Regions from separate parts of the Homo sapiens genome. Here all the other regions are linked to region 4. The links are contacts of gene promoters, found by promoter capture Hi-C in blood cells and fetal thymus (Javierre and others, 2016). All regions are on one chromosome and are shown on one strand. The core of a region is centred on a gene start or on the middle of the fragment in contact, and the rest is flanking DNA. Distances in the headings are between cores, read along the strand shown. Region 1 overlaps DENND2B (DENN domain containing 2B). Region 2 overlaps DENND5A (DENN domain containing 5A). Region 3 overlaps TRIM66 (tripartite motif containing 66). Region 4 holds the start of AKIP1 (A-kinase interacting protein 1). Region 5 holds the start of LOC107984308 (a long non-coding RNA gene).

Evidence for each region. Contacts are between HindIII fragments. The CHiCAGO score rates a contact against its expected background, and 5 or more counts as called.
Region 1: a fragment that was not itself captured here is called in contact with the fragment with the promoter of AKIP1 in region 4 in 2 of 17 cell types (M1 macrophages and M0 macrophages); the score reaches 9.9 in M1 macrophages.
Region 2: a fragment that was not itself captured here is called in contact with the fragment with the promoter of AKIP1 in region 4 in 1 of 17 cell types (M1 macrophages); the score reaches 5.9 in M1 macrophages.
Region 3: a fragment that was not itself captured here is called in contact with the fragment with the promoter of AKIP1 in region 4 in 3 of 17 cell types (M2 macrophages, M1 macrophages and M0 macrophages); the score reaches 6.9 in M2 macrophages.
Region 5: a fragment that was not itself captured here is called in contact with the fragment with the promoter of AKIP1 in region 4 in 1 of 17 cell types (M1 macrophages); the score reaches 5.5 in M1 macrophages.

What each region holds. Positions count from the first base shown.
Region 1 is chr11:8,697,770-8,702,399 of GRCh38, forward strand. DENND2B (DENN domain containing 2B) reads right to left here. Exons shown (of 20, transcript NM_213618.2): 15 at 1,444-1,621; 16 at 1,164-1,205. Among named protein-coding and RNA genes, the nearest start is that of SNORA3B, 15 kb to the left of the region's middle. RefSeq lists enhancers at 413-1,200, 1,201-1,986, 4,349-4,630 and a silencer at 1,193-1,487. The HindIII fragment of the contact is 8,144 bases long and covers 1-4,630 here.
Region 2 is chr11:9,151,044-9,155,947 of GRCh38, forward strand. DENND5A (DENN domain containing 5A) reads right to left here. Exons shown (of 23, transcript NM_015213.4): 13 at 1,315-1,399. Among named protein-coding and RNA genes, the nearest start is that of SCUBE2, 62 kb to the left of the region's middle. The HindIII fragment of the contact is 258 bases long and covers 1,215-1,472 here.
Region 3 is chr11:8,673,190-8,677,577 of GRCh38, forward strand. TRIM66 (tripartite motif containing 66) reads right to left here. Exons shown (of 25, transcript NM_001388022.1): 4 at 1,617-1,694. Among named protein-coding and RNA genes, the nearest start is that of TRIM66, 7.3 kb to the right of the region's middle. The HindIII fragment of the contact is 5,452 bases long and covers 1-4,388 here.
Region 4 is chr11:8,909,552-8,914,526 of GRCh38, forward strand. It overlaps AKIP1 (A-kinase interacting protein 1), which reads left to right and starts at 1,638. Exons shown (of 6, transcript NM_020642.4): 1 at 1,638-1,672; 2 at 1,893-2,120; 3 at 2,902-2,982. The coding sequence starts at 1,899. It also overlaps a transcript of DENND2B not described here. RefSeq lists a silencer at 1,403-1,682 and enhancers at 1,773-1,842, 1,853-1,942. The HindIII fragment of the contact is 8,527 bases long and covers 1-4,975 here.
Region 5 is chr11:8,715,280-8,720,130 of GRCh38, forward strand. DENND2B (DENN domain containing 2B) reads right to left here. Exons shown (of 20, transcript NM_213618.2): 5 at 2,462-2,613; 6 at 324-539. LOC107984308 (a long non-coding RNA gene) reads left to right here and starts at 2,905. Exons shown (of 2, transcript XR_001748118.2): 1 at 2,905-3,009; 2 at 3,802-4,253. The HindIII fragment of the contact is 3,161 bases long and covers 745-3,905 here.

The DNA of each region.
Region 1 (4,630 bases), core at 2,125-4,624, 210 kb before region 4:
TCATTTTAAGATGAGGAACTGAAGCACAGAAAGGTTAAGAAACTTGCCCAAGATTACAGAGATTAAAAGTGGTAGAGGGTCAGGCGCAGTGGCTCACGCCAGTAATCCCAACACTTTGGAAGGCTGAGCGGGAGGATCGCTTGAGCCCAGGAGGGAGTTCGAGACCAGCCTGGGCAACTTAGCAGGTCCCTCTATCTGCAAAACACACACAAAAAAACAATTAGTCAAGTATGGTGGCATGCACCTGTACTCCCAGCTACTTAGGAGGCTGACATGGGGAGGATCACCTGAGCCCAGGCAGGTCGAGGCTGCAGTGTCATGACTGTACCACTGCACTCCAGCCTGGATGACAGTGAGACCCTGTCTCCAAAAAAAAAAAAAAAAAAAAAAAAAAAAAGGGGGTAGAGCCAGTGTGGCATTCACTGGCCTCTGTGACCAGGACCAGCCAGGGGTTCCTGATTAGGTCTCCCCAATTCCTCCATCTTCAGCTCCAGGCAGGAGGCACAGTTGGCTTGGGGCAGGGGGACTGTGGCCAGCCTGTGTCTCAGGAATGAAGTTAGACTGTTGTTTCGTCTCTATACTCTGTTTCTGTGTCCACATCACTATGCCTGGTACCCAGGGAGTCCTCAGCTCCGTCATTGGTGTGTAACAGACAATAAGTACATTTCCATAGGGGAGAGCACTGGGTTGTGCTCCTTTGTAGAGAGCCAGGAGGATTTCCACGACTAACAAAGGCTTTTTGTAGTTGACAACAATGATTGCAAACCTGTACGTTACATAACAATCTATAGTTATTTGTGTAACCCCCAGCAAACATTTCAAGGCAGGTGTTGTCACCACCTCTCCTTTAGAGCTCAGAAGAATTTAGAGGCCTAAGACCATGTGGCTCAAAGGGGGCAAAGTCCAGTGGCCAAGTCTGTGGACTCCCAGGCCGTGTTCTTCAAATTCCCACACTGCCTTCTAGAAGCTCATGATGTCACTGGAAAGGCGGACCCTGCTAAGGTCAAGGATTCCAAGACCAGCTTCTCCCCACCCTTGACTAGTCTGTGAGTAGTACTGAACCCAGAGAGAGAGCTCAACAAACAGGTTGTGAAGGTTGAGTAGTGTGTGTGATGGTGCAGGGTGCTCAGGAGCCCAACTCTAGCAAGCACCCACCCTCTTACCTGTCGGATGAATCGGTCAGATCCCAGATTCACCATCAGCGCCTGAGAAAAGGAGTCATTAGCAGAGTGGCTCAGGGCATGAGTCCCGCAATGCCCTCTGCCAGGCCTCCAGACCTCCCAGGTTCCCAGGGTCAGCTAACAGGAAGTACTCCAGCCGGGGATAGACCTCCCAGGGAGAAAGGATAAGAGCCTGGTAAAGAGGCCGAGGGGCCACAAGTAAGATCCCAGCACCTGCTTCCCCCTCCACCCTTCCCCCCAGCTGGTTCCCCCGGTGGCCCACCTCCTCCACAGGCAGCTCCTTCAGTTTGGGGAGGGAGCTGGAGAGCAGGCCAACCAGGAAGGGGGTGGGACAGCAGACGATGTCAATCATGGAGGCCGGGAGGACAGGAATGAAGGTGTGCTGCCAGGAGAAGGGGTAGAGCAAGGCCACCACCGCGTGGGAGCAGCTGGAGAGGGTACTGATGGGCAGACAGAGAGACAGAGTACCTGAGCCCAGGCCCAGGAACTTAGAGCTCGCTGGAGGCTCAGGACAGCCTTTGATCGTAAACCTCCCAGTGCAACAAAAATGCTAATGGGGTTCAGGGACCCTGCAGACTGGTAAAGTCCCCGCTTTCCCACTGCGTAGCGCCTCAAGGACAACAATGCTACTCTCTTAGGGAAATGTACCTGCAAACAGCCAGGAAGGTATGCAGCAACCCGCAGGACAGTCATCTGACAAAGATCTGGAAAAGGGCTGTCTCGGGTTTGGGGGGCACATCAGTGGGCCCGTGGCTGAGGAGGCAGTAGGTTTTGTAAACCCCTAGGGCCAGTGAATGCAGATCGTGGGTACCCTCTCCCACCCCACATCAGAACTAGGCAAGAGGGACAAAGAACTTGTGGAAAACCTAAAACATCAGCAACGGATCATGAGCTGGCTGGACCTACCCCTCCCCTCTCCAGCCAGAGGCAGACCCCAGGCAGAACAGGAAGGACATCTTTTCCAAGACCCCAGATTGGCAGAACTTGAATACCCGGCCAGGCCAAGAACAAGACCTTGGGATCGTCCCTCCCAGAATGGTCCTGGAATGTGCTCAGAGGCAGCTGCAACCACAGGAAACAATAGCTGTATTCACAGCCCCACGGGAGCTGGCCTGGGGGGGGGCAGGGTGGCAAAGAGGAAGCTCAGCCCTGAATTAGAGGGTAGAACCTTCAGGAAAAGAAACCTCATGGTCCAGGCTCTCTTAGGGGCCACTAAGGTCAGGCCAGGCCAGGGCACCAAAGCTGGGCAGTCAGGGGCTTTGTTGGCTGACAATGACCATGGCTGGTACACAGGAGGGGCCTCTTGGAACTGCTGTACCCAGCTCATTCCAGCTGTTGGGCTAGATTTCTTCACAAGGGCCTGATGGGCCCACAGAACACCTAGAAGTGTGAGACACAGAAGCATTGAGGCTGTGATGGGAACAAGTGAGGGGCAGTTTTCCTTTCTAAACCCTGGTGCTCTATGGAAAAGTCAGCAGCTCTGGTTTTTCTTCCTCCTTTCTTCTCCTGGGCTGAGGATGGGCCTGCGTTCCTGTCCCTCTGAAGGCAATCGGGAGTTCATTTCTCGGTTTCCTCTCAACTGCTTCCTCATACATACGGAAGGAAATACCCCAGGGATTCAGGACTTATTGGAGGACAAACCAGAACGGGGATTTTCCTTCACTGCCCTCCTGTGAGCACCTGACATTTAAGGTGGCTTAATCAATGTCCAAATGACCACTCTAGAGAAACCACTGCTTGGGATGGATTCTTTGACCAAAACAATATGTAACATGTTGCCAATAACCCATCCTGTTGTTGTAGGACTTACTAAGAAATTATTTTATGGAGAGAGGAAAAGTTTTTGTTTCCTTTTTTTAAAAAAATTTTTAAATTTTTATTTATTTATTTATTTTGAGACAGAGTGTCACTCCCAGGCTGGAGTGCAGTGGCACAATCTCCGCTCACTGCAACCTCCACCTCCTGGATTCAAGCAATTCTCCTGCCTCAGCCTCCTGAGTAGCTGGGACTACAGGCCCAGCTAATACAGGGTTTCACCATGTTGGCCAGGAGAGTCTCGATCTCTTGACCTTGTGATCTGCCCACCTCGGCCTCCCAAAGTGCTGGGATTACAGGCGTGAGCCACTGTACCTCATTTCCTTTAAAGCAGCTCAAAAATGTTTCTTGTCTGGAAAGAAAGCCCCGGCTCTTAGAGCCAGGCAGGCAACCTTTGATATGCAAATGAAGACCATTAGAAATTGGGTCCACCCAACATGGCAATTCCCACCGTTGTCCTCTTGCCCTTGCCCCTACAGGTGCCTAGCAGCATGGCTGCCCCGCATATTCCCACGTGTGTAGAACATCAGGCGCCCTACATTCGCATATTAAAAGGCTAGGATGGGAAGGCCAGCTTCCGGGGGGGGGGGGGGGAGGGGCTACATGAATGACATGCCTGGTCAAACCAATCCCCTAAGCCCTATGCAAATCAAACACCGCCTCCTCCAGCCTTCTTATCAAACTGGCTGGTATCCACAACACTTGGGGTTCCCTCTCTCGGCTTTGGAGCCTCTCTCCCTCTGTCTCTGTACTTTCTTCTTTCTGCCTTTCTCCTTCCCTTCTTGCCTATTAAACTCTCCGCTCCTTAAAACCACTCCACGTGTGTCGGTGTCGTTTTATCTAAACCAGCATAAGAACCAAAAACCCTAGTGTTCCTGCACTCATCGGAGCCGTATCACTTGTGCCTTGCCTGTGTCACCCCCTAACCACCACTGACATAAAACTTTTTTCTTTTTTAAACCTTGGCTGTCTAGAAGAGCTCCGACTTCTTACTTCCTAAACTGCCTCACGTCCAGTGACCATCACTTCTGCCACCCCTCCCATGGCCACCACCAGACCTTCTCGACACCTCTACCTCTAAAATCATAAATGCCAGCATTTCAGACCAAGACCTGTGACCCATCCAGCTCTTTTCTTACTCCTCCTAAACCAGCTCCCCGACTTCCCTGGCACCTCCAGGCCCTGCACATCATCTGTTTCCCGGTGTGGGCTGGCCAGCCTTCCTCACCCACTCTCCTCTCTGCACCTCAGTGCCCCCATCACATCCTTCTCCCCAGCCCTCCCATTGCCCAGCCCTGGGCCACTGCAGTTGCCTTCTCCAGGGGACACCCTCCACAGGACCCTCGCTGGCTGGCTCAGCATTCCTCACACTGTCCCCGGTCAGTGCTCTTGCCCCTTCCTCACAGCAGCTCTTTCCTCAAACTCAGCATCCCATTGAGATGGCTTTGCCTCCCCCTCCAGAAGAAATGCAACCATCCACCAAAAATCTCAATTTCTTAACCTTTCCCCTTTACATATCCCGGCACCTGCACAGTCTTGGCTGTTGCAAAGGAAGAAATATCCCTCCCTCTCCCCTCAGGCCAAGCCCTCCACAGGGTTCTCAATCCTGCCATCTGTGTGCTCCCAAACCCTGC
Region 2 (4,904 bases), core at 94-2,593, 240 kb after region 4:
AGGTTAGCTGCTTTGCCTATGTCACCAAGCAGCAAAGTCAGTACTGGAACACAGACCTCCTGGCTCCTAGTCTATCATGCTCTCACCATGATCCACAGAAGCAGTGCTTCCACTTGGAGCCACTACTCACATCCTGTTCTGGCTTCACAGCAGCCTACAAAAGCCCAAGAGAATATATAAAGAACAAGAATGTTCTGGTTCTGTTCCAGAATGATAGGACCTCTAGGAGAAGAGAAGATATAATACCTTTATATCCTCATGTCTGGCCTAATGTTTAAAACTTAGTATTTTCATCATCAAGCTGTTGAGAATTTTTGGCTACAGTTTATTCCTCAGCAATGACTTCTATAGCATTCTTAATAAGAACCTGCTTTTACACATCCAGAAAGCGGGCCAAAAAAATTCCTCATAAGCCTACCTGGAGAACTCTTGTCTCTAGTTTTCAGCCAATTATCTCCCCAGGTTCAGTGCTAGTTAAGGTCAACTAGTTCAAGGGCAACGAGTTCATGCCCATCTTTTTACCCCATTTAACTCACCTTTACCATTAAGATAAAAACATCCAAGAAAGGTAAACAAATGTCTGGCAGAGTGGAGAACAAAGGATGATGTGAAGGGGAGATGCACCCAAGAAGTAAAAGAAGCAGGGAGACTAGCCTGGAAAGGACACTGTAGGATGGTCTAAACATCAGAGCAGGAGATAAGATGACTGGCTCTTGTTTGGCCTCTTCCATGAGCTCACTTTGTGATCTTAAGTAAATTCAATTCCTCTCCAGACTCGTTTCCTCCTCTTGTAAAATAAAGGGCCTGGACTAGATGACCTCTGGAGTTGCCACAAACTCTGACATTTTTATTAGGTTAGAAACAGAAAGGAAGTATAAGGGATCATTCACACCAGGACTTGACTTTGAGGAGGTCCAAGGAAGGACACTGACCAACAGCTCTCTTGACTAACGGGATAGATAATCATAATGCCCATGTCAGAGAAATAAAACAAAAGACTCTGAAAACAGCCTGCTCCAAACCCAGGACACCAGTACCACAGTAAAACCCATATTCATTCTGAGACTGGCCTCTTGCCCAAATAAATTTTCTATCTTGCCGATAAAAAGGGTATAGAAATACATAATGAAAGCAAATGCCATGGTTTTGGTATGCTCTGTGGTTCAGAGAGTCTGGTGGCTCCATATTTAAAAGAGAAAACATTCCAGAGCAAAAGCTTCTTCGACCTGGAATAGTTTGCTTCAAAGTGATCACGCCAGTGGGTGATGGAAAAGTGGAGAGAGGGCAGACTCTCCATTGCAGAGACTATCTTACCTGAGGTACTGAGGCTTCCTGATGTGAGTTTTCTCTGCCGGTTGTCCTGATAATGTAACAGGTGGGACCATAAGGCTGATTTCCCCTGGAACCAATGCAAGGGAGAAACACCTATCAGTTTAGATTTCAGGGGTCAAGGCTTTCAACATACAGATAGAAGCTTTTGCTAAAAAAATATATGTACTGTTTCTTGTTTCAATGTACATCCAGGACACAGTGTATGCAAATATATCAATTTACTAAAATCCAGAAGAAATATAAACAATGGAAGGTAACAGAAAAAGGAAAGGGTCCCCTACTGGGAATAGAAAGGAGATGGGAAAGAGAGCCTGGTAAGGGACCAGTGGATAAGAAAGAAAAAAGCAGCTGGGCACGGTGGCTCACACCTGTAATCCCAACACTTCAGGAAGCCGAGGCGGGCAGATCACTTGAGGTCAGGAGTTCGATTCCAGCCTGGCCAACATGGTGAAACCCTGTCTCTACTAAAAATACACAAATTAGCAGGATGTGGTGGTGCATGGCTATAATCCCAGCTACTCAGGAGGCAGGAGAATCACTTGAACCCGGGAGGCAGAGGTTGCAGTGAGCCTAGATCGCACCATTGCACTCCAGCCTGGGCGACAGGGTGAGACGCCGTCTCAAAAAAAAAAAAACAAAAAAGAAAGAAAGAAAAAAGCAGGCCAGGCACAGTGTCTCACACCTGTAATCCCAACCCCAACACTGGGAGGCCAAGGCGGGCGGATCACTTGAGGTCAGAAGTTCGGGACCAGCCTAGCCAACACAGCAAAACCCTTACTAAAAATACAAAAATTAGCCGGGAGTGGTGGCACACGCCTGCTGTCCCAGCTACTCGGGAGGCTGAGGCAAGAGGATCACTCGAACCGAACCTGGGAGGTGGAGGGAGTTGAACCTGGGGGGCAGAGGTTGCAGTGAGCCAGGATCATGCCGCTGCACTCCAGCCTGGGTGACAGAATGAGGCTCCCTCTCAAAAAAAAAAAAAAAAAAAAAAAAAAGAAGCAAATGACCTATCATCCTCTAAATGGTCTGCTGGTTTTATGTCAGCTTGATGGCTTTTGCACAGAGGAGTGGATATCCAGCCTATAAGCTTCCATCTTAGCTCCTGAATTTCCTAAAATATTTAAAGTTATTCCTTTAAATATTGTTCTAGTCCTGATTTTGCTACTTGGTGAACTAGGCAAAGCAGTTTGGTGAACTTCTCTGAATGTCAGTTTCCTTCTCTGTTAAGTGGGGGAAACTGTGGTATCTTTGGCTACCTTATAAGTTGTTAGTGCAGGCCAGGGAGAGTAAGTCATCACTATAACAAGGATTTACTATTGAAGGTATAGTTGAAGAAATGTGCAGAAAGGTAGGCTGGTACTTAACTGCATGGCTGAAATAAACTACAGTCAATATAATAGAACCTTGGCGTTTGGAAAGGTAAGAACTGCACTTTAAACCATTTGAGATATGTAGCAATTTGTCATTTTGCCAAGGCACAAACCTGAATAGTATTTGCAAGCCTGATGTGAGGGAGTAATTCACCTGGGTAATGAGTGAGCCCAGCTGGTCACCCAGCAACTGCTTTGTCTCTTTCTAATCATCGTTCAGTACATCATAACCCTTGTTAAGTGATAACTTTATTTCAGATTCATGGTAAATGTTCCCATGCAGATAATAAAATAATATAAAGGTGGTATGTTTGTTTTAGTAAGATTACAATAATTTTATAAATGACTTTGGTTCTATAATAATGATAGAAGCTACCAGGTCTTGAGGCTTACTATGAACTAAGCACTATGTCAGATGTTCAAAATACAATATTTTAATTAATGCTCCCAACAGTCTAATAAGGTAGATATCTCTATCCCTATTTTCTGTAGAGAAGAAGAAATTGAGGATCGGAAAGGTTAAGTTAACTTGTAAGAGGTCACACCGTTAGTAAGCAGAGTGTTGGGATTCAAGCTTAAGTCTATCTAATGTCAAAACCATTGCTCTTAATAACTATGCTACACGAGATGCTTCTGAAAAGATCATTTAACTTTTTAAGTTATACTTTCTGAGGAAAATTTTGTGCTATGGAATTAATGTGAAGATTTAAGGTCTTAAGATATACCCCATGAGAATACTGAGGGTCTATTTTGTTTCTATTCACAAACTTGATCTACTCTGGGGAAAAAAAAAAACAAACATCTGAATGGTAGGAAACCCTCGCTATAGATCAGCAAGCTGTCAAAATAAGCTTGCTGTATGTTTGTACTTCCTACAAAATTCATAAACTTAAAACCCAACAACTTCAAAGACAATTTTTAAAATATATAAAAACTAAAATTAGAAAATACCAGGTTTTATTCATCCAAATAACAAATATTTGAAAAAAAAAATGTCTAACAACATTAATGAGACTTACAAATCCTATACTAACTGCTTCTAAGAAGGTCTATTGTTTCCTGTTGGGAGCCAAAAAGAAAAAAAAATTTTAATTTAAAAAACTTAAAAAAAAAAAGAAGGTTGACTGGGCGCAGTGGCTCACATCTGTAACCCCAGCACTTTGGGAGGCCGAGGTGGGTGGACCACCTGAAGTCAGGAGTTCGAGACCAACCTGGCCAACAGGAGGAAACCCCATCTCTACTAAAATACAAAAATTAGGCGCGCATGGTGACAGGCACCTGTAATCCCAGCTACTCAGGAGGCTGAGGCAGGAGAACTGCTTGAACCCAGGAGGCAGAGATTGCAGTGAGTCAAGATGGCACTACTGCACTCCAGCCTGGGCAACAGGGTGAGACTCCATTTAAAAAAAAAAAAAGGTCTATTAATGTATCTAACAGATAATATAAGAGCTTAAAATATTTATGGTCTTTGACTTAGTAATTCAACTTCTAGAAATCCATTCATCCTTCCATCTACCACAACCATTAGAAAGTAGGCTCCCCAGCATCTAGGCAGACTAGGAAAGCAGCCTAAGATAAATTAATAGAACTGTCTGAATGTGGCACACATTAAGTACAGCTGGTGACCAGAGAGCCTGACATGCAATAACACTAAAGAGCCAAGGACAAGGGCAAAATCAGGCCACTATACCAGAAGAAGGAAGCCCCTGGCTCACAATGTTTACAGAGGTGAGGAGAAAGAGCAAGGGCAGGAGTGGAAGAGCAGCAGCTGGGCTGCTCTTTGGTCTTTCTAGTTCAAGAGACATGGCCTACTCTTTTTCCTCTTTTGCAAAGGGTCTGATTGGGATTGCAAGGTTCAATACAGCCTGACTATCCATTTATGGACATGGACACACAATAAACTGCATCAGATTCTACAAGAATGTCATAAGCAAGAAAGATAAGTAACAACTCCTTTTCATGTGTCAACCCTAAATGGCAGCAGTTACAAAACCAGTATGAAAAACCAAACCTCTATCTGATAGAAAAACATACTATAGGTGGAAGCCCATCTCCTTGGAAGATGTCACTGAAAGCCAAAGAGAGTGGTGAGGATAACAGAGGTTCTTATGAAGACTTGCTGCAGGCAGCCTTACATCCAAGCAGTCAAGGCTAGTAACAAAATTTAAGAGGCCAGCAGCAAAAATGCTGTTTGGGTTCTCT
Region 3 (4,388 bases), core at 665-3,164, 240 kb before region 4:
AGTGCTGGGATTACAGGCATGAGCCACCGAGCCCGGCCCACACTCTTAATTAGTGAAATGTTCTTAAGCTGAGGTCCACACACATATTTTCATGAGTTCTGTCCACTAATTTTTTAAAATTAGTGTTTCATTGTGATAATAAAGTTTTAAAAAGTATAGTCTGGATTATCTACATATCTACCACAATATGATTTTGGGGGTAGTGTTAAGAGTCTAGGATTTAGTACACACTAGGCAGTATTACTTGTCTCAGGTTAATGAGCTGAGAGAGGGGCAGACTTAATACACAAATAATGTATTCTTGCCACTTGAAGTCTAAACAACATTGTGGCACAAAATGATGCATGTTTTACAGTACTTGGAACAGAGAAAGGAAGTGGGAAAACTGAGCCATCATCATTGTGGCATATGTTTGCTGAACTTAGCTACAAGAGTGAGCACCACATTTAAGTCATAATGATAGTTTAGTTTAGAAAAACATCACATACATGTGAAATTAATATTATTAATTTGATGGCTTTGTAGTTTTTTACAATTTGTAAACTATATTCAGTTTTATAGTTGTATAACAGCTAAAAGCCAAAGGAAGTTGTAGCTAGTTTTATATTTGTACTTATTTAAGAAACAAAATACAAATCATTTAATTCAAATCTGGGTCTTGGTAATTATGCAAGTTTGAGAAAAATTTCACTCCAGTCTGAAGTCTTTAGGAGCCAAGCCTTCAGGAAGGAGGAAGGGTGATGGGGCTGGGAGAGGCCAGGCTGCCTGGGGTCCAGAAAGATGCCACTACATAAAGCTATAGATAGACCTGCACTTCTAATTCCTTCTGGGCATTATTTAGCAGAAAACAGCCATAGCAGCAGCATGATTAGAGACGAGGACAGTCTCTATTAGAAGGTTCAAGCATGCCTGAGTTTATTTCACTGGGCCAGTAGTTCTCAAACTTTTTGGTCTTGGGAATCCCTTTACATATGTTTACTCATTGAAGACCCCAAAGAGAGTTCATTTATGTGAACTATTGCTATTTACCACACTAGAAGTTAAAGCTGAGAAAATCTATTGCTATTTACCACATTAGAAGTTAAAGCTGAGAAAATTTTAAAACATTAATTTTCATAAAATAATAAACTTGTTATATGTTAACACGAATAACATACTTTTTGGAAAAAATAACTATTTCCTTTTTTCCATTTATTTATTTATTTATTTTTTGAGACAGGGTCTTGCTCTGTTGCCTAGGCTGGAGGGCAGTCGTGCGAAGTTCACTGCAGCCTCAAACTTCTGAGCTCAACCAAACTTCTTGCTTCAGCCTCCTAGGCAGCTAGCACTATAGGCATGTGCCACCACACCCGACTATTTTATTTTCATTTTTATTTTTGTAGAGACCAGGTCTTGCTATGTAGCCCAAGCTGGTCTCAAATTCCTGGACTCAAGCGATCCTCCATTTTGGCCGCCCGAAGTGCTGGGATTATAGGCGTGAGCCACTGCACCCAGCCTAAAAAAAAAAAATCAACTACTTTCAAAAAAATTAATTTAATGAGAAGAGTCACATTGTTTCTCATATGTGCCAAACCCTTTAACATCTGGCTTAATAAAAGACGGCTGGACTCCCATACCTGTTTCTGCAGTCAATCTGTTATATGTTGTTTTGTTCACAGTATATGAGGAAAATCCAGTCTCACACAGACATACAGCTGGAAAAGATAGGAGTACTTTAATAGCCTTATCAGGTAATTGTGGATATTCTTTGATACCACACCAAAATTCAACAGTGGTAGTAGTTTCTTAAATGTTATTTATAAGGTAGACTCTGAACCAAACTTTTCTTATTCTGTTATATTAAAATCTGCTGATCTTGCTCTTTGAACTAGTCTTTTCCCCAGGCACAGTTTTTTAACACCAAGCATTGGTCATTTGGAAAATACCAGTTCAATGACTTATGCAGATGTTCCAAATATCGACACATTTCATTACACAATAACAAAAAATCACATTCTTTAGAATCACCTCGAATCTCATCAGAAAATTCTTTTAAGCATTGAGAAGCTGCCAAATTCATGGAGGCAGCAAAAACTACCAGAATTCTAACTTTTGCTTGAACGCTTGAATTTTATCATTGGCAACAAATACTGTCAATTCACTTTTGAGAAAATATCGGACAAATTCCCAAGCCTGAATAACCACAGTTTGTCTGCCAGTTATTCTTTTTTTAGATGCAGTTTTGCCCTTGTTAACCAGGCTGGAGTACAATGGCGTGATCTTGGCTCATAGAAACCTCCACCTCCCAGGTTCAAGTGATTCTCCTGCCTCAGCCTCCCGAGCAGCTGGGATTACAAGCATGCACCACCACACCCAGCTAATTTTGTATTTTTAGTAGAGACAGGGTTTCTCCATGTTGGTTAGGGTGATCTCAAACTCCCGACCTCAGATGATCCACCTGCCTTGGCCTCCCAAAGTGCTGGGATTACAGGCATGAGCCATCGCACCCGGCCTGCCAGTTGTCCTTTCGTGTAATACTGATGTTTCACTTTTTATTTTTTTAATTATTATTTATTTATTTATTAATTTTTGAGAGAGTCTCGCTCTGTCGTCAGGCTGGAGTGCAGTGGCGTGATCTTGATTCACTGCAACCTCCGACTCCCTGGTTCAAGCGATTCTCCTGCCTCAGCCTCTCAAGTAGCTGGGATTACAGGCATGCACCACTACGCCCAGCTAATTTTTGTATTTTTAGTAGAGACGGGGTTTCACCATGTTGGCCAGGATGGTCTCAATCTCCAGACCTCGTGATCCACCCGCCTCAGCTTCCCAAAGATTACAGGCGTGAGCCACCACATCGTCCATTATGTTTCATTTTTTAAAAGGCTAGTTTAACTTGCAACTCAATAGCACAAGCACAGTTTCTCACTTTGATATGTAGTAGGAATACTTTTTCTTCACACAGAACATCAAAAAGAAATCTAAAAAAGTACTTAAGAATTTCAGGATTGAGATTTAATAAAAATTGTTACCACTTCATCATGGATGGACATTCTTAAGGTAAACTTCTTTTTTTTTTTTTTAACCGGCAGATGCTTAGTGGTAAAGAATATAAGGTTTTGTTCCAGTTTGGTGCCCAAAACATCAGCAGTTTTACATAACATTGCTTTGGCACCATCAGTGCAAATGTCAACCCAGTGAAAAGATCAAATAACACGTTAGCTTTATTATTAAAATTGTTTGACCTGTGAACTCCCTGAAACGGTCTCAGGGACCCCCCACCCCATAAGGTCTACAGACCACACTTGGAGAACTACTGCATTAGACCTTGCATCACAATCCTGGGAATTCAGGGAGGTAGCATGGCTTTCCACCACCAGCAAGTACTACACAGGGTAAGAATATAAAGAAACAGGCATCTCATTTATGTCTTAGAAGAGCAATTGAAGTAACTCCATGAAAGTAAATGGTTAATTTAAAGGCACAGCCACACAATGAGTTTCTGATTTGAGAAGACGAAGGGTCAAATGACCCCATTTCTGCCCCCTTCTTATGGCTGCTTTCATCATAACTTAGTTCTTCCCTCTCCTTCTTATCTCCCCTGACCTAGAAGAGTGTAGGGGACAGAGTTTGCAAGACTGTACTTAAGCCAAGGTAGTAAATTCAAATGCCTACAGGGGCTGGGCAATCTATATGAACGAAGTGCTTTACTTAAAAGAATGTGGGTCTAATGTCTCCAAATCTTAGTTTTCCAAAACCCAGGAAATTATTTTTATTTACATTTTAAAATGTTAACAAAAAGTTAAATTTTAAAACATTGCCTTGCCACAAACCACCTCCTTTTAACATCTTACCACATCTATATCTAAGAAAAGGAAAATATTTACTGGAGTACCTTAACCTTGCTAAGGAATGATGGAACAAGTCATTCCACATCACATTGGGAATAAGAATTTCAAAGATTGTTTGCATGAAGGGTACAGAACAAATTATCATAAAAATAACACTCATTTTAGGGAGAAAATGTGAGCGAGAAATAGTAGGTAATGAGAGTACCTACTCTTTGCTAGGCTGTGTTATATGTGATATATTATTTGTTTGCTTGTTTAATGTATGTCTTAGACATAGTCTTAGGGAAGGACTTTTGTTCACAATTGTACCTGCCCCTCACTTGCCTGGCACCTAGCATAGGAACATAGTACACACTCAATTAATATTTATAAAACGAATGAATGAATCTCATTATTTTTTCATTATACAGACAAGAAAACAGATTCAAAGAGAACATGCTATTTGTTCAATATAATTCAGTGAGTAAAAACAGAACTAGGAGGCTGGGCGTGATGGTCATGCCTGTAATCCCAGTGCTTTGGGAGGGCGAGGTAGGAGGGCTGCTTGAGGCTAGCAGTTTG
Region 4 (4,975 bases), core at 388-2,887:
CTATGTTCTAAAGGAGGCACTTGATAAACCCTTATTGAAGGAAATGTTTTGGAATACCAATAAAATGAAAAAAAAATCATCTCAAGAATAATGTAGGGTTTCACTCACTGTTATTCTTTTTTATAAGGGGAAAGCAGGAAATTTGCAAAAGTTAAGTAGCATAGAAGGAGGTCGTATTGGTCGGCTACTACTCACCTGGTACCTGATAATTGCTCATCAAGCCATCTGTTGAGACTAGGTGAGGATGGAGTTTCTCTCCTTTTTCATGAACCACAGAGGAGACTTAAAGGAGGATTTATTTGTGTTCCTTAAAGTGACCCCCACTGAGCGTGTCCCTCAAAGTGGACCTTCCTAAGCATCGGCGCTTTGCTTTGCGCTGGGTGGTGCGGCTGAGTCACTAATTAGCAGTGAGAGCCTGGGCTGTATCTCCTACCAAATAACCAGCGGAGTGGAGTGACAGGTCCTTACTTAAACATGGTTTAAGTAAGCATTCACAGTTCCTTACTTAAACATGGTGCAGTCTTCCTAAAAGATGGAGTCAGACCCCAAGAGAACAGGTCTCCAAAAATATGTGAATCCGTACTTCCCACTGGAGGGGAGAGAGAGCTGCGCTGAGGGATTATGAGAGACCCTACAACTTCTCAGGCGCCCCCTGCCCCGGGGGCCAGGAACATCTGCAGACAGCCCCGCCTCCGTCTCGCCTCAATCCCGAGCTGTTCCCTTCTCCAAAGGCCACCTTGGCAGCCACACAGTTTGGCCTAATCACCTCCTCAAACAAGAGTAGCGACACCCCAAAATGTAGACCAAGCAGAAAGAGGCGCGGGAGGCACTTGCCTTATTCCCCATGATGTTTTTGTTTTGAGACGAAGTCTTCCTCTGTCGCCCAGGCTGGAGTGCAGTGGCGCGATCTCGTCTCACTGCAACCTCCGCTTCCCGGGTTCAAGCGATCCTCCCACCTCGACCCTCCCGAGTACCTGGGACTACAGATGCGCGCCACCACTCCTCCTACTGTGTGTGTGTGTGGACACGGGTTGTCGCTATGTTGCCTACCTAGCTGGTACCCCATAACCACTCCTGGCTAGTGTGTGTGTGTGTGTGTGGACACGGGTTGTCGCTATGTTGCCTACCTAGCTGGTACCCCATAACCACTCCTGGCTAGTGTGTGTGTGTGTGTGTGTGTGTGTGTCTACACGGGTTCTCGCTATGTTGCCTACCTAGCTGGTACCCCATAATTTTTTAGCTCAACAGGAGACCTGCCTTTATACCCACCAAGTTAAGCAGCGCAGTAGCCCTCTAAGGGCCAGCCCCACGCCCAGAGGCTCCTCTGACAGCGTGGACAGATGCCCTGGGCTGCTGGCTCGACTCAGTCCTCAGCCCCCAGCCCCCGACCCCCGACCCCCGGCCCCCGACCCCCGACCCCCGGCCCCCAGCGCCCGGCGCCCCGCCTCCAGCGCTCAGCAGTTAACCAGGCAACTCGCGCGCAGACGCCAAGGCTGGGACGCAGAAGGCGTGTTTGGCCGCCCAGCCGCCCCGCCTCCCCCACTTCTCCCGCCTCTCCCGCCTCTCCCGCCTTCCGCCAATGGCCCAGCTGCGCCGGCGCCGCCGGGAGCGCTAGGCCTGGTCCCTCTTCCTAGAATAGCGTTGCGCGCATGCGCCTTGACGAGTGAGCCGGGTGAGGGGGCTCCCTAAGTAGCGGAAGGGGTAGATGAAAATGGAAGGGGCGGGCGCGCTAGGCCTAGTCCTGGCTGGGCTCCCGCTGGAGTGTGCGTTGGGGGCGGACCAGGAGCGGTGGTCTCCAGGGAGGTCGAGGCTGGGGCTCCCACCCGGATTTGGAGCAGGGTCGCCGCGGCCCAGCTGACCCGCCGGCGTTTGTACGTTGTGTGCCCACTCAGGGAGCCATGGACAACTGTTTGGCGGCCGCAGCGCTGAATGGGGTGGACCGACGTTCCCTGCAGCGTTCAGCAAGGCTGGCTCTAGAAGTGCTGGAGAGGGCCAAGAGGAGGGCGGTGGACTGGCATGCCCTGGAGCGTCCCAAAGGCTGCATGGGGGTCCTTGCCCGGGAGGCGCCCCACCTAGAGAAACAGCCGGCAGCCGGCCCGCAGCGCGTTCTCCCGGGAGAGGTGAGGGTCGCTGTGCCGGGGGCCGCCCCAGTCCTTCGCGCCGCGGTAGCCCGCTGGGAGCCAGGGGTGCGCAGCGCAGAAGCAGCTGAGGAAACCTTCCCTTAGCGGAAGCTGGAAAGGATCAGAACAATGAATGGAAAAGTCCTTTCAAAACGCTTTACATTTGACAGATTCTTGTTGGGTAGCTGTAGAATAACGGTAGTGTTCAGCCCTGGTTGGTTACTTAAAAAAAAAAAAAAAAATTAGCCGGGCGCGGTGGCTCATGCCTGCAATCCCAGCACTTTGGGAGGCCGAGGCGGGCGGATCACCTGAGGTCGGGAGTTCGAAAGCAGCCTGACCAACATGGAGAAATCCCGTCTCTACTAAAAATACAAAATTAGCCGGGCGTGGTGGCGCATGTCTGTAATCCCAGGTACTAGGGAGGCTGAGGCAGGAGAATCGCTTGAACCCGGGAGGCGGAGGTCGCGGTGAGCCGAGATCGCGCCATTGCACTCCAGCCTGGGCAACAAGAGCGAAACCTCCGTCTCAAAAAAAAAAAAAAAAAAAAAATCTTACAGCTATCATCTGATAGTAGAGGAAAGCCTGCAAGCCTGTCTCTTAGATCCTGGATAAATTGCATGTCTATCTTTTAGAGTTGGAATTCTTTCTCAATAACATCGTTCTTTCTGACATAAACTTGCAGAGCCTTTCCAAAAGTAAAAAGGAGACTATTTCCAAAATGGCTTCATTCTCCAGTAGGGAATCCTAGAGCTAACCTGTGACGTGCCATTTATTCAAATAGAGAGAAGAGAGACCCCCAACCCTTAGTGCTTCCTTCAGAACAATGGCTGAATTCATGGACTATACTTCAAGTCAGTGTGGGGTAAGTTGGTGTGAACCAAAACTATGCCCCATCACCTGCTGATGGACCACATTTGGATCTTTCTGGAATTTACGGAGAATCTGGACACTACCTGTTTCTCCTGCCCAGCCTTCACGGTCAGATTGTAATCAGTCAAGGACTTAAACCAGGGGGTAAATCCAAGTTAGAATTCACCCAATAAATGTTTATTGAATGCCTAACCCTGTAGCTGACAATATAGCAATGAAAAGTCAGAAAAGGTCTTCTGCCCTCAGTGATCTTTCAGTCTAGTGGGGGGAAAATAGCTTATTTGCCGAATTTCATAGCAAATAAGTTAAATATTAGGGGTTTTTTTTAACTTTTTTTTTTTTTTTTTTTTTGAGACAGAGGCTTGCTCTGTGGCACAGGCTGGAGTGCAGTGGTGTGATCTCGGCTCACTGCAAGCTCTCCCTCCTGGGTTCACACCATTCTCCTGCCTCAGCCTCCCTAGTAGCTGGGACTACAGGCGCCCACCACCACGCCCAGCTAATTTTTTTTTTTGTATTTTTAGTAGAGACGGGGTTTCACTGTGTTACCCAGGATGGTCTCCATCTCCTGACCTCGTGATCCGCCCGCCTCAGCCTCCCAAAGTGCTGGGATTACAGGTGTGAGCCACCGTGCCCGACCTTTTTTTTTTTTTTTTAATTGAGACAGAGTCTCACTCCATCACCCAGGCTGGTGTGCAGTGGCTCAGTCTCGGCTCACTGCAACCCCTACCTCCTGGCCTCCTGGTTCAAGCGATTCTCCTGCCTCAGCCTCCCGAGTAGCTGGGACTACAGGCACATGCCACCATGCCTGGCTAATTTTTGTATTTTTAGTAGAGACAGGGCTTCACCATGTTGGCCAGGCTGCTCTGGAACGCCTGACCTCGAGGGATCCGCGCATCTTGGCCTCCCAAAGTGCTGGGATTACAGGCTTGAGCCACCATACCCAGCCAAGTCATCTTTCGATACTTAGGGAATGTTGAGGGCAGGCCAGAAAACATTCAAGGAAATTACCTGCATGGAAGGCACTGTCTTCTAGGAATTACAGCAGGCTCTGGCCTCATGCAGTCTTAACACTTGGTGAGTCCTACATGGTTTTAAGGAGGCTGATCCACAAAGGAGATGGAAGAGAATACCTTGTTTCTGCCCTGCTTTTCAGTTTCATATGTTAAGATCTCAAAAAACTCTAATCTTTCTACATCTTTTATAAGAATCCCTGACTCCAAGAATAGGATTCCAACCAAAGAGGAATACTTCAGGGAATATTTTTATCTTATTTGTGTTGTTCAGTGGTTTTACAAAAATCAATAGCCTCAACTCTACTGTAAAGTGATTAAACCCTTGGTTCATGGTTCAGCAAAAGGAATAATATTTGTCTTTGGTTTGAGGTTTAGCAAATTGCTGTTCTTCATTTTTGTTTTCAGTTCATGCTTCAGTTCAAGTCTCTGTTATGAAATGGAGCCTCAGAACCTCTTGGCTTTCTAGAGATAGAATTAAGAATTGTGTACTGGGTTTGTCTCCACAGTTTGAAGCAGCCACTAAAACACATCTTTAGGTCTGTGTCCTCAAGTGCTTTCCCCAGCTTCTCGTTCTTCTGGTCACATGTTTTTTAGACAGTGTGCCTACCCTGTTCAAAACAAGCAGGGCTGTGATGTCATTAGTCATTATCAAGGGCAAGTCTAAGGCTAACTTTGAGGGGGAGGAAGGAAGCAGACAAGAGAAATGTAACTGTTTTCCGATCTTTCGGAAGATTCTTCTTAAATTAGAGACTTCTCCCTCCACTCCCCCACGCGCAGGAAGCACAGAGAAAAGGGCTGCAGAGCAGCTCTTGGGTTTGTTTCATTTCCTGCTGTGTTTCTAAATCTCAGGAAAATGTACCCCTCTCTTCCCGTGTCCTGGTCTGAGACTTAGACAATAAACATGGAACCGTTCATCCACATTTTTTAGGGGAGGAAATGAAAGGATATGTGCATTGGACATGGGGGCAAAGA
Region 5 (4,851 bases), core at 1,075-3,574, 190 kb before region 4:
GTCCTAGGTCCTTGAAAGCCTGGAAATGCTTATGTGTGCGGATACCCCAAAATTCATACACCACACTTACTAATGGGGAACCTCGGCTAGACTTTCCTTCCTCTAACATCTGAGCACCAAGGTCAGTTAATGCATCTTTATTGATAAGAAAGGGGAATTAATCAGATGAAAAAGAGGCCAGTGCACGGACCCAGAATTTATTCAAAGGGAATCGAGGAAGCAGTCCAGATTAGGGAAGGAAGGAAGCCAGGAAAGAGAGAGAAAGGCTGGCTGCCTGCCCGCCCACCTGCCCGGCTCCAGTGGGCTGCCTCTGGGGAGGGTACCTTGGGAATGCGGCGGGCCCGGCGGCTGGACAGCAGCTCGCTGGTGGTGCTGAGGCTGTCTTCATTGAGGCTGGAGGGTGAGGACGGCAGACTCAGCTGAGCCAGCAGCAGCATGTCGTCATGGCTGTGCCTCTTGGGTAATCGTGGCAGCCGGTGGCTCTTCCTTTCTGACCAGTTCCCACTGCGCAGGGACTGGCTGTTGGGTTTCAGGGAAAGCTGGCGTGGGGGAGAGGACGTGCGAGAGGGGCTTGCCACAGAGGCCTTGGCCAGTGTCTGTCTGCTGGGATGGGGACACAGAGGCCAAGGGCCGGCATCCCTGGATCCCCGCCATCTTGCCCTGGAACTTCCATCCCTCTCTTAAGACTTTAGCTGCTAATCAGCCAGGTCAGGGATAGATTAGATACTTGCCTTCCCTAAAGGAAGCTTCACTACTGCCAGCAAAAAACGAAAGCAGAGGCTAAAAACACCTGTGCTCTCATCTGAGTGGAAAAAGAAGACTAAGTGGGAATTTTGCGGGGGTCCTCCTGAGCTATGGGACAAGAATTACTGGGCCTGGGTGATGGAACCAGTCTTCCGGACCTCTGCTCCCGAGCCAATCCTAAAAGGTTTCTGACAGCAGAGGCCATAACCTACTGGCCAGCCTGCTGGGCTGGGAGATCCTGCAGCCTGGCCCTCCTAACTGCTCCCATGGAGAACACAGGGGCTCTGGGCTCTGACCACCAAAGCTGGGCCAGGCAGGCCTCACACTGAATTGGATCCCATACCCACAAGGCCCTGGCTGCCCTCTCCCCAGCCCTGATCTACTCTCTGCCTCTCTCCATATGCGCTGACCTCTCATCCCAGGGCACCATCCTTGTCGCGGACCCTGTCAGGAGGCAAGTATCCCACAGACACCCAACCACTGTCTGGTTCTGGAATTGCCTCTCCTCACTCCTCAGCAAATCCTCCTTCCTCCACAGCCCCCAATTTCCTGTTCTCACCCAATCAATCTGGCAATGCAAACTCAGGGGAAGCCTGTTTGAAAAGAGTCCTAATTAGAGGGTAAATCTTTTTTTTTTTTTTTGAGACGGAGTCTCGCTGTGTCGCCCAGGTAGGAGTGCAGTGGAGCGATCTTGGCTTACTGCAACCTCCGTCTTCCGAGTTCAAGCAATTATCCTGCCTCAGCCTCCCAAGCAGCTGGGACTACAGGCGTGCGCCATCATGCCCAGCTAATGTTTGTATTTTTAGTAGAGATGAGGTTTCACTGGCCAGGCTGGTCTTGAACTCCTGACCTCAGATGATCTGCCCACCTTGGCCTCCCAAAGTGCTAGGATTACATGCGTGAGCCACCACTCCCAGCTATGGGGTAAATCTTTTATAAAAACAAACACCTTATTCCAAAGGCAGAAGAAATCATTTTTATATTATCATTTTATATTATCTGGCCAATGCTATATAATATCCAGGTCCTTCCATTTGCAAAGAGAATTAGAGTTACCTGGGGAGGTCAGAGAAGCCTCTCCACCTGCCTCCTGACATCCTGGACAAGGACAGAAGGAGCTGAAGTCCAAGAGCTTCCTTTGGCTTTTCACCTTTCCTGTCATTCTGCCTTCTCCCCATCCATTCCTTAAAGATTCATGCTTACTCTCTCCCACAGGACTGGCTCCAGGTGTCACAGACACCTGTCTGGCTCTCCAAATGTGGTTTGGGGACCTACACCTAGCCCCCTAATGCCAGTACTGAGATGACTTCTGGCAGAGTTGCAGAATGCCAAGACTCCCACTAGGGCCCTGTCTTCCTGTTTCCCACAGGGTGATAAATAATCAGAGAGGAGACTGCAAGGGCTCCTGGCTGAGTTTTGCAGCTCAGAGCTTGTGTAGGAAGGGAAAGAAGATAGGACAGGATGCCCCTCAGAGCAGGTGCCAATTGTCCACAGAGGTTTCAACATGGTGGACATCCTTGAGTGCACAGTCCTTTGCTGAGGAGACCTCCTTTATCAGACGAGATCGGGCACGTTCAGGGTGGTATGGCCGTAGACCCTTTATCAAGTACTAGTGAGGGTAAAAGCCTGAGTGGAAGCTGGGCCCAAGTCTTGGAAGAGCAGGCCCCCACTGTGGCCCTCACGCTAACCCTACAGGCCGATGTCAGGGCTGAGTTACCTGTGTGGGCGGGCTGTTGTACTTCCTGTCCTGAGGACTCCACATCCTGTGCAAAGAGTCCAAGGAGTTCTCAGACAGTTGCTGGGATTTTCGTCCTGCTCTTCGGCTCTTTAAGTCCACATCCTCATATGGATTCTCCTTGGGCAGATCTCCTGCAGAGGAGGAAGAGTTAGAGAAGGGGGAGAAGGGAAGAAGGAAACACACGAACTCACACACACACAAATAAACAAGCAGAATTCCTGTGAACCAAAGAGAATGGCTTCTGCCTGGCCCCTCAGCTCATGAGTCATGCAGCTGCCCGTCTGCAGTGGGGAGGCTACAAACAGATCCTGGCTCCAAGTCCAGAAGCAGACCCACCCCCCCACCCCCCCCAACCCCCCACCCCCAGCCCAGCTCAGCCTGGCCTCTGCTTTATAAATTCAGGGATTGCACAAGACTGGCTCAGCCACCCCTGCCTGTGCCCAGCCAGAGGACAAAGCCAGCAACAAGAGTCTTTCCTTGGCTCCCTTCCCTCTGCTGCAAACACCCCAGAGATAACACAGTTCAAGGTAGGAAGGGTTTTCAGGTCACATGGCTGTCCCTTCACCCAACTCTCAGGGGATCTCCCTGGGGACCTACTTTGGAGGGTGGGCATGGAGGAACTCACAGAACCGTAGGGAGCAGGGCTTCGCCAGGCCCCCTTCTCACCTACGATGCCGTTCAACAAGTCTTTTAGGGCAGGGTTTTGTGTTGTTCACTGAGGCAACCTCGGAACGGAACAGTGATTAGCAAGGAGGAAGTGTTCAGTAATGATCTGTTCGATGACTCTCCTACTGTAGTGTCTATTCCCTCTACCGCTGATCTCAGCAAAAAGAGAACCATCAACACTCCCCTTTTGGAACAAACTCTCCTGCTGTGACACAGGGGAGGTGTGAAAGGCTTGGAAGGAGTCTGGGCCAAAGGGTGGGGGTGAGGGGAGTTCTTGCTTCTCAGGACTAGTTCTAAAATCTCTGGCAGCGGGCATTGTATTGGCATTACCAGAAAATCTCAGAAAAGTCCAAAACAGAATCCCTGCCCTTGAAGATGTTGAGTGGCACTCCTTTCCACAAGCTGTATCTCCTGCCCCCACCCCTCCAACACACACATTTTCTAAAATAGAGTAACACCATGGGCCGGGTCAGTCCTAGCTCAATCCTGGTGGCAGAATCCGTGGGGTGAACAGGTCCCTGGGGAACTCAGAACACAGCCCTCTCTGCACCCCTTTCCCTATTTTCCTGCTGCAGAGCAGGACTCACTCCAGCACCTCTGCTCAGCAGCAGGATTGAGCCTGGGTGCCACTGAGTCCCACACTTGTTCTACAGATGTCTGAATGTGCCTTACGCCCCAGAGGAACTCAGACCCCACTCCTCAGGAAGCAGGCAGAAGAAGGAGCTGGAGGACGAGGAACAAAGGCTGCTGAGAGTGAAGCTTTCCTAGAGAGGACACGGGAGAAGAGCCAATCCCTATATGCTTGCAGATTCCTCCATTTCCAAAGTGGAGCTCCCTCCACATTGTGGCATCTACTTATGCAGAACCACAACGAATTTAGGAAATGCTCTAACAGAGTTAGGGTGTGGGTGTGAAGGAGGGATTTCAGTGACAGCTAAATAGACTGCAGTGGGAGCAATATAAATCTCTGTAAACTTATGAGTCAAAGATGGGTCACTGGGATTTGGGACTGGATTAAGTGATTCCCAACTCCAAGCAGAGTCCCCAGCAATGGAACAGACCTTTTCCTGTAACACAGTCATGCTATTAAAATGACTTGTCTCCATTCCAGAGCCCTGACTAAGCGGAGCTGGCCCAGCAGCCCTGTCGCAAGAAGCCAAATAGCAAACCCGGCACCCCCTGCATGTTTTCTCCAGCCTACCCCACTGTGGGGCACTTAGGGAGGTGTTGGGGATGGATTCTCTACTTCTTGATCCTTCCCCAACATATGCCCTGCAGGAGTGAGGAGGTGGGGGAACTAAGAAGGGAGAATGCCAGGACACAGTCTTCTGATCCCCTAAAACAGGACCAGAGCATCACTGTCCACATCACGGCAGGGAGAACATTTATGCCAAGCTCAACAAATCGAAACTGCCTTGGACTGCATGATCAGCCAGGGCCTTTATTGTCATCCCCAACCTATAGGAAGCCTTGTCCCAATCCCAGGGGTTTCTCCAAGCCACTGACATTTGGGGTTGAATAATTCTTGTTGTGGTAGACTGTCCTGTCCATTTTTAGGATGTTTAGTGGCAACCTTGGCTTCTATCCACCAGGAGACATTAGCATCTCCTTAGCTATAACAGCCAAAAATGTCTCCAGACACTGCCAGATGCTCTCTGGGACGGACAGAGGGAAGGAGGGAGAGAGAGGGAGGGAGGCAGGAA